Regions from separate parts of the Homo sapiens genome. Here region 1 is linked to region 2. The links are contacts of gene promoters, found by promoter capture Hi-C in blood cells and fetal thymus (Javierre and others, 2016). All regions are on one chromosome and are shown on one strand. The core of a region is centred on a gene start or on the middle of the fragment in contact, and the rest is flanking DNA. Distances in the headings are between cores, read along the strand shown. Region 1 overlaps HSPE1-MOB4 (HSPE1-MOB4 readthrough). Region 2 holds the start of GLS (glutaminase).

Region 1 (3,941 bases), core at 1,055-3,554, 6.6 Mb after region 2:
GGGTCTTCCTCTAGTGCTCAGGCTGGAGTGCAGTGGTGCTATCATGGCTCACTGCAGCCTTGACCTCCCAGGTTCAATTGATCCTCCCACCTCAGCCCCCTGAGTAACTGGGACTACACATACATGTCACCATGCCCTGCTAATTTTTGTTTTTTGTTTTTTGTTTTTTTTTTTGAGACGGAGTCTCACTCTGTCGCCCAGGCTGGAGTGCAGTGGTGCGATCTCGGCTCACTGCAACATCTGCCTCCCGGGTTCAAGTGATTCTACTGCCTCAGCCTCTTGAATAGCTGGGATTATAGGCACCCGCCACTGCGCCCAGCTGATTTTTGTATTTTTAGTAGGGATGGGGTTTCACCATGTTGGCAAGGCTGGTCTTGAACTCCTGACCTCAGGTGATCCTCCTGCCTCGGCCTCCCAAAGAGCTAAGATTACTGGCGTGAGTGACTGCAGCCAGCCAATTTTTGTATTTTTTGTAGAGACTGGGTTTCACTATATTGCCGAGACTGGTCTCAAACTCCTGGAGTCAAGTGATCCTCCCTGCTTGGCCTCCCAAGGTGCTGGAATTACAGGTACACAATTTGTTTTTTAGTGAATGGTGTATGTATCTGACTTTCTTTTTTCAGAGATGGGGTCTCACTGTGCTCTCCAGGCAGTTTTTGCTCTCCTGAGCTCAAGCAATATTCCTGCCTCACCCTCCAGAGAAGCTAGGACTACTTTATTTTTTTAATCAATGAGTAGCTTGTTGTCACAACTTTACTTACTGGATTATCCATTCTTCTCCCTGCACACCACTCCCCGACCTCCCTTCTCTCTATGCCCAGAAATCAGAGATGTTGCCTTTATCATATACGAAATTTCTAAATATGCCTATTCATGGGTTTAATAATTTGTTCCATTGACCTCCCTATTCCATCACATTGCTTTCAATGTAAATAGCTTTATATTTAAGTTTGACATCTGATAAGGCAAGTCCTCCCTGTACCTATTCACCTGCCTGAGAGTATGTTCTTTGTTCCTATATGAGCCGCCAGCTTGTTCTTCAGTGTTATACCAAGTCATGCTTCCTCCAGCAAGTTAATTACTGTTTTCACTGCACCCACACAAAAATGGAGTTTTGAACTTTTGACTTATTTGTGTGACGAGTATTTAAATCCAATCCCTTCCCTTCCCTTCCTTTTCTTTTTTTTTTAGAAGGAGTTTCGCTCTTGTTGCCCAGGCTGGAGTGCAATGGCACGATCTCGACTCACTGCAACCTCCGCCTCCCGGGTTCAAGCGATTCTCCTGCCTCAGCCTCCTGAGTAGCTGGAATTACAGGCATGTGCCACCACACTTGGCTAATTTTTTTTGTACTTTTAGTAGAGATGGGGTTTCACCATGTTGGTCAGGCTGGTCTTGAACTCCTGACCTCAAGTGATCCACCCACCTCAGCCTCTCAAAGTCCTGGGACTATAGGCATGAGCCACCACACCCAGCTTAAGTATATTTTCCTTTACTCTCAAGCAACCTCTATGAGAGAGCCCAATCAATCCCAGCTCTTGTCCTGTGTTGCTTACATACTAGTTCTGCTACATTTGACAAATTACCTAACCCCTCTTAGCTTATGAATGAACTGCAAAACAAGGGCATTAGATTTGCCTCTTAACGTTTTGAGTCAAGCCTGTTATTTTGTTGTTAAACTTTTATTTATTTAAAAATAAATAATATGTTCATGTAAAAATTTAAAATTATAGACACTGAAAAGAATGCTCTCTATCCTTGTCCCCCAGCCACCCAGTCCCATCCTTGGAAGTAACTAGTATAATTTTTGTATTCTTCCTTTAAGGTGTTTTATGTATATACACATATATGTAAATGTGTACTATATATGTACATATCTTATGTATATAAAATATATATTCATTTTTTCTTTTTCAAAAAATAATATTCCATACATAACATTTGACACCTTGCTTTTTTACATTAACAATTGGTCTCTGGGATTAATCTATAGATAAAGACACTTTAAGACTGTATAATGTTCAATTATATGGATAAGCCATAATTTATTTCAGGATGCACCCCCAGCAATGATAGATATTTAAGTTATTCTAACCTTTTTCTATTAGAAACACTTCTGCAATGAATAAATGTATGCATAACTAAATATGTACATTTGAACAAGCATATCTATAAGATAAATTCCTATAGAACTGCTACGTCAAAGGGTCTGTGAATTTTAATCATGCATGTACGCAGATACAGACATGGATCTCCAAGTTGTCCTTCATTGAACTCCCATCAGTTTTATTTATTTATTTATTTATTTATTTATTTATTGACACAGAGTTTCAGTCTTATTGCCCAGGCTGGAGTGCAGTGGCACGATCTTGGCTCACTGCAACCTCCACCTCCCAAGTTCAAGTGATTCTCCTATCTCAGCCTCCTGAGTAGCTGGGATTACAGGTGCTCGCCACCACGCCTGGCTAATTTTTGTATTTTTAGTAAAGATGAGGTTTCACCATGTTGACCAGGCTGGTCTCAAACTCCTGATCTCAGGTGATCCACCCGCCTCCAAAGTGCTGGGACTACAGGCATGAGTCACTGCGCCCAGCCAAAAGGTCCATGAATTAACAGTCCTACTAGCAATGTATTTTTTTTCTTCTTACTCTCTGTAATGCAGGATGTTATAAAGTTCTTATTTTGCCAATCTGATAATTTTACTCTTTATCATGATGAATGAGGATGAGCATTGTATGTGTTTAAGACTCTTTTTTTTTTTGAGACAGGTTCTTGTCTGTCGCCCAGGCTAGAGTGCAGTGGCACCATCAGAGGCTCACTGCAGCCTTGACATCCTGGGCTCAGGTGATCCTCTCACCTCAGCCTACCGAGCAGCCGGGACTACAGATGCATGCTACCACGCCCAGCTAATATTTGTAGAGACAGGGTTTTGCCATGTTGCTCAGCGTGGTCTTGAACTCCTGGACTCAAGTGATCTGCCCACCTCAGCCTCTCAAAGTGCTGAGATTACAGGCATGAGCCACCTTGCTTACCCTTGTTAACTGGTTATTCCTATTCACTTAATATCTTCTGCCTATTTTTTGACTGAGTGCTTGATCTTTTATGACTTCTATTTATTAAAGAAACTAGTTCTTTGTGTTTTTTTTCCCTCTAGTTTGTCATTTGGGTTTTGATTTTGTTTATGCCTTGCACTTGTAGAAAGTCATTTTGGTGTATTTGAATTATTAAATGTTTTTCTTTATGCCTTCTGGGTATGACGTTAAACTCTGAAAAGTCTTCTCCAAAACTTAAAGTTTCTTCCACGGTTTCTTTAGGTATTTTTATAGTTTGGGTTTTTCTTTAAAAAAAAAACAACAGATTTTGATTTTGGCTCCATCTGTAGATTTTCCTGTTAAAAGATATAAGAAATGTTTAAAATTCCCCTACCATCTTATAGATTAAGCCTAAGTCTTTAAGACACTTAAAATTTCGCTTGCGAAATGCCCTTTCAGTCTCATTTAGCCTGAAGACATGACTTGGAAAAACATCAATGGTTATTTACTTACCTGGCTTGAATGTCAGTTCAAAAGGCTAGTTTATTATAGTATTTTTAAGTCACGCATTTTTTGAATATGGGCTAGGCACTGTTCTAGGCACTGGATATACAGGGATGAATAAGATCGGGGAAGCACACAGTAAACAACTAAATTAATAGCATGATTTTAGATACAGATTGGTGTTATCAAGAAAATAAAGACAGACTGGGCACAGTGGCTCACACCTGTAATCCCAGCACTTTAGGAGGCTGAAGTGAGGATCACTTGAGCCTAGGAGGTTGAGGCTGTAGTGAGTGGTGATCATGCCACTACACTCCAGCCTGGGTGAGAGCATAAGACACTGTCTCAAAGGGGAAGAAAAAGGGTGAAGCCCAGTGTCTCACACCTGTAATACCAGCATTTTGAGAG
Region 2 (4,119 bases), core at 684-3,183:
TCATAAGAAACTCAGAGAAATTAAGGGAGAAACTGAGAGGAAAACAGTAACTGGATTGTCAGTTGCTTTGTGTTGTTGAGAAAAAAGAGGCAGTTAAAATTGATAACTAATTGCAGCTAATATATTGGACAATATTAAAGTCTGCAAGTCATTAACAAGTCAGGGTTAGGCAGGGGTAATATTTGTTACCTTTCCTCTGAAACTTGATGTCTCTATTCCTGAATATATCATTACTTTGATTCATCAACATTTTTGGACAAGTAACATTAGTAATAAAAGCTATCTAAGTACTTTCCCATTGTCCTGCTTTTTTTTTTTTAAATAAAAAAGGTGACTATGTTTTACACATGATAGTTTTTTCCATGTTCTTCTGGTTAAAGAGCAGATAGAAAAAAAAAACTTAAAACACGGCAAGGCTGTAACATGCCAAAGGTCACATAACCTGTAGGTACAGCCAGATTTCCTAATTATTAATCTATTGAAATATTTTACAGTTCACTAGATTACTAAATCCGGTTATCAATTAATGATGCACCTGACATACACCCTTCTAGTTTCATAAAAATCACCTCATTAGGCCGGGCGTGGTGGCTCACGCCTGTAATCCCAGCAATTTGGGAGGCCCAGGGGGTGCAGATCCCTCGAAACCAGCCTGGGCAACCTGGCGAAACCCCGTCTCTACCAAAAATACAAAAAAAAAAAAAAAAAAAAGCAGGTGCTGGCTGAGGTGGGAGGATCACCGGGGCCCCTGAGTTCAAGGCTGCAGTAAGCCGTGATCGCGCCACTGCACTTCAGCCTGGGCGACAGAGTGAGACCCTTTCTCAAAACGAACACACACAACAACACAGTAACAACACACCAACCCCCAAAACATCTTATTAAACTCTGTGGATCTACTCCATTTAAACCTAATTGTTTCAGGAAATAGTCTAAAAACATTTTTTTGTCCTGGAATGTAATGTGTATGTAGCCTCAGGGAATAACTCAGTTTATCAGGTTCTTGGCTGTTTTTCCACAGGTCCAAAAGGATAAATGGATAAAGTGATGCTGAAATAACTTAGAGAACCCGTATTCCAACGCTTCTATTTTAAAACAGTGAAGCAGTTTTTAAAATAGAAAAGTATCTACAGTTTTGCTTTCAAGCAAATAGCGTTAACGGAATCATTGCTATTCAAAACTATTTTTGAAGTATCGGTGTACATTTAAAAAAAATAATTTTTAAAAAAGAAAGCTGTCGTATTCTGGATTCCGCAACCCCCCCACCCCGCCTCGCCACTCGTCGCCCTCCCTCCACCTCCACCCTCCCATGGCTTAAGTCGCATAGCTGAAAGGATTTTGCTCATTTTTTCCAAAACACTTCACGTCTGGGTAGTAGCCAATCATGGAAAGTTTCAAGCAAATGTTACATTTGGGAGAGGGATGAAGCTTGTCCGGGGCTGCTCTCGGAGGAGTCGCCAGACGCCCTGACCTGGGGGCCAGATGCGAGCTGGGATCGGCTGAGTTCCGACAGCTCGGCCAGACTCAGCCCTGCCAAACCTGCTGACCTCACTGCCCTCGGCTGCGGGGGATCTCGCCCATGAGTCTCCCCAACAGCTCGAATTCCCAGAGTGGAGGAGCCCACTGCTTCATAAATGCGAGAACCCAGAGCCCCTAGTACCCAACTAGGCTAGCCTCGGAGTTGGCACGGCGTGCAGAAAGTGGCTACTGAGCAGCCGGGCCTGGCTCACCCGCTTCACACGTCAGTTTGACTCCTCTCCCCGCCCCCCACCAATCCCCCGCCCTACTCTCCGCGCACCCAGAGCCGAGAGAAATTTGACTGCCCTAATCGCCAATCAAAAGAGAGGTCGAGGATTTGAGCCAATCGCAGCGGGCGAAAGGGGCGGGCCGTCGGCGAGCGCTGAAGGTCTCTAGCCCTCCCCTGCGCTTTAGCCTCAGTGCGGAGCCTTAGGCGGAGCGAAGAGAACCGGTCGCGGCAATCCTAGCGCGCAGCAGCAGCAGCAGCAGCAGCAGCAGCAGCAGCAGCAGCAGCAGCACCCGCATCCGCTGCGGGAGTCCGAGCCGGAACCACACCCAAGTAGCTGCCCTTTCCTCTTCTGTCATCTCACCGCCCCACCACAGACCGCGTTCCCCGAGGAAACCGGCCGCCCACGCCCGGAGCATCCTCCCCTGTTGAGCGGGCGCTGACGGACCCGGCGGCATGATGCGGCTGCGAGGCTCGGGGATGCTGCGGGACCTGCTCCTGCGGTCGCCCGCCGGCGTGAGCGCGACTCTGCGGCGGGCACAGCCCTTGGTCACCCTGTGCCGGCGTCCCCGAGGCGGGGGACGGCCGGCCGCGGGCCCGGCTGCCGCCGCGCGACTCCACCCGTGGTGGGGCGGGGGCGGCTGGCCGGCGGAGCCCCTCGCGCGGGGCCTGTCCAGCTCTCCTTCGGAGATCTTGCAGGAGCTGGGCAAGGGGAGCACGCATCCGCAGCCCGGGGTGTCGCCACCCGCTGCCCCGGCGGCGCCCGGCCCCAAGGACGGCCCCGGGGAGACGGACGCGTTTGGCAACAGCGAGGGCAAAGAGCTGGTGGCCTCAGGTGAAAAGTGAGTGTCTCCGCGAGGCGCAGGAGGCCTCGTTCCTTTCGGGGCCCGGGCTCAGGCTGTGTGGGGCCCTGCGGTGGGGCGGGATAGGAGCCGAGGGTCTAGAAAAGAGAAAGAAAGAGGTGCCGGGCGGCCTGCGCCGTCTGCGCCATGTGATTAGGCCCGGCCCCGCCCGCGCCTTCCCCGCCCGCAACCCTCCGCCAGGCACCCACTTCCCTTCTCCGCCCCCGGCGGGGGTCGCCCTGGTGGGGCCGCGGTGGGGCCTGATGGGCTCGCCTGGCGTCCCCAGCGCCAGAGAGGCCGCTCCCCTGCCCGCGCTGCGTGCTCAGCTCCCTGGCTTGCGGCTGCAGCGCCTGGCCGCCCGCCCCAGCCATTCGTGGGCGATGCTGCACGAACATCTCCACCGAGTGACATTTAGGAGTTGGGCGTTCAGCAGAGCCTTTACCTTCCTGACTTGTCGCTTTTCCTGGCTCGTTTCCGCTCTGCCTGCCCTCCCTTGGTTTCTGCCATCATCCGGTTGGAAGCCAGATGTGACAGAGAGCTCTTTATATTTCGGGAGTGGCTACCTCAGGCACGTGTAGAGCCATCTGGGGCACCGGAAACAATGTTTCAGAAGTGAGATTAGGAGGAATCCGGTCATGTGGCCGAGAAGATGGGGCACGCAGTATAGACCACCTGTTTGCATAAGGGACCAGCTTTGGCTTGTCAGGTCTTCCGTGAGATGGGGAGATTTTTAGAAATAAAAGTTAAATAGCCAAGATGAAATGTGACGTAATACACTAACTCAGTGAAAAATCTGAGTTGAGTAGGTTTTGTGACTTCATTGTGATAGGATGTTGACTCATCCTGTATGTGTACGGCACAGTAGTTTAGTCTTAAAGCAAAACTGGTTTTTCTTAAACAATATGCAAAGCAGTCTCCTATATATTTTTGTCTTGTGTAATACAAATGGACCACTTTGTTTTCCCAAAATGGGTAAAAATTTACGGATCTGCTTTCATTATACCTTACTCTTTTTCTGGCTTTGTACGCTGACACTCTAACCTGTTTTGCTTCCCTTTTATTTCTGCTGCTATTTCCAGCTCTAGAGTTCCTTAAGTCAAACTGAAAGTGAGAACATTGTTATAATTTCAATCTCACGCCTGCTTGATGTTTTCCTGTAATTGAAGTTGGGACCTTCCAGAAACTTTTCTAAAGTTCTTCTCCCAGACTGAAAAAGATTATTTGAAAAAAATCACTTGATGATGGGCGAAATTTGTGGTATTTTGTGATGTTGGTTTTGTGCCACAAAATAGCGTCCTGACCATGGACAGGTTATTTAATATCTTGGGTTAGATGACTTAAATCCTTTCAAGTTCTAAAAAGCTATACTTCTGTTAAATTTGTACTTCTCTCATGTTTTAGGGACTAGAATGATAATTTAATCTCATCTGGGACTCACTTTTACTTTAACATCATCCGGTTTACCAAGGAAGTAACGAGTTTACATGCAAGTGCCCAAGGTACAGAATTGCAAAATGCAGTCACAACCGTTTAAAA

The links. Contacts are between HindIII fragments. The CHiCAGO score rates a contact against its expected background, and 5 or more counts as called.
Region 1: a contact is called between a fragment that was not itself captured here and the fragment with the promoter of GLS in region 2, in 1 of 17 cell types (total B cells). The highest score is 6.3, in total B cells.

What each region holds. Positions count from the first base shown.
Region 1 is chr2:197,507,663-197,511,603 of GRCh38, forward strand. All of the region lies in intron 2 of HSPE1-MOB4 (HSPE1-MOB4 readthrough), which reads left to right. Among named protein-coding and RNA genes, the nearest start is that of MOB4, 6.4 kb to the right of the region's middle. The HindIII fragment of the contact is 5,819 bases long and covers 1-3,941 here.
Region 2 is chr2:190,878,888-190,883,006 of GRCh38, forward strand. GLS (glutaminase) reads left to right here and starts at 1,934. Exons shown (of 18, transcript NM_014905.5): 1 at 1,934-2,583. The coding sequence starts at 2,198. It overlaps LOC124906110 (a long non-coding RNA gene), which reads right to left and starts at 3,101. Exons shown (of 2, transcript XR_007087791.1): 1 at 3,026-3,101; 2 at 1-2,681. RefSeq lists enhancers at 1,322-1,461, 2,858-4,057, 3,222-3,411 and silencers at 1,732-1,991, 2,332-2,391, 2,442-2,531, 2,592-2,901. The HindIII fragment of the contact is 8,795 bases long and covers 1,424-4,119 here.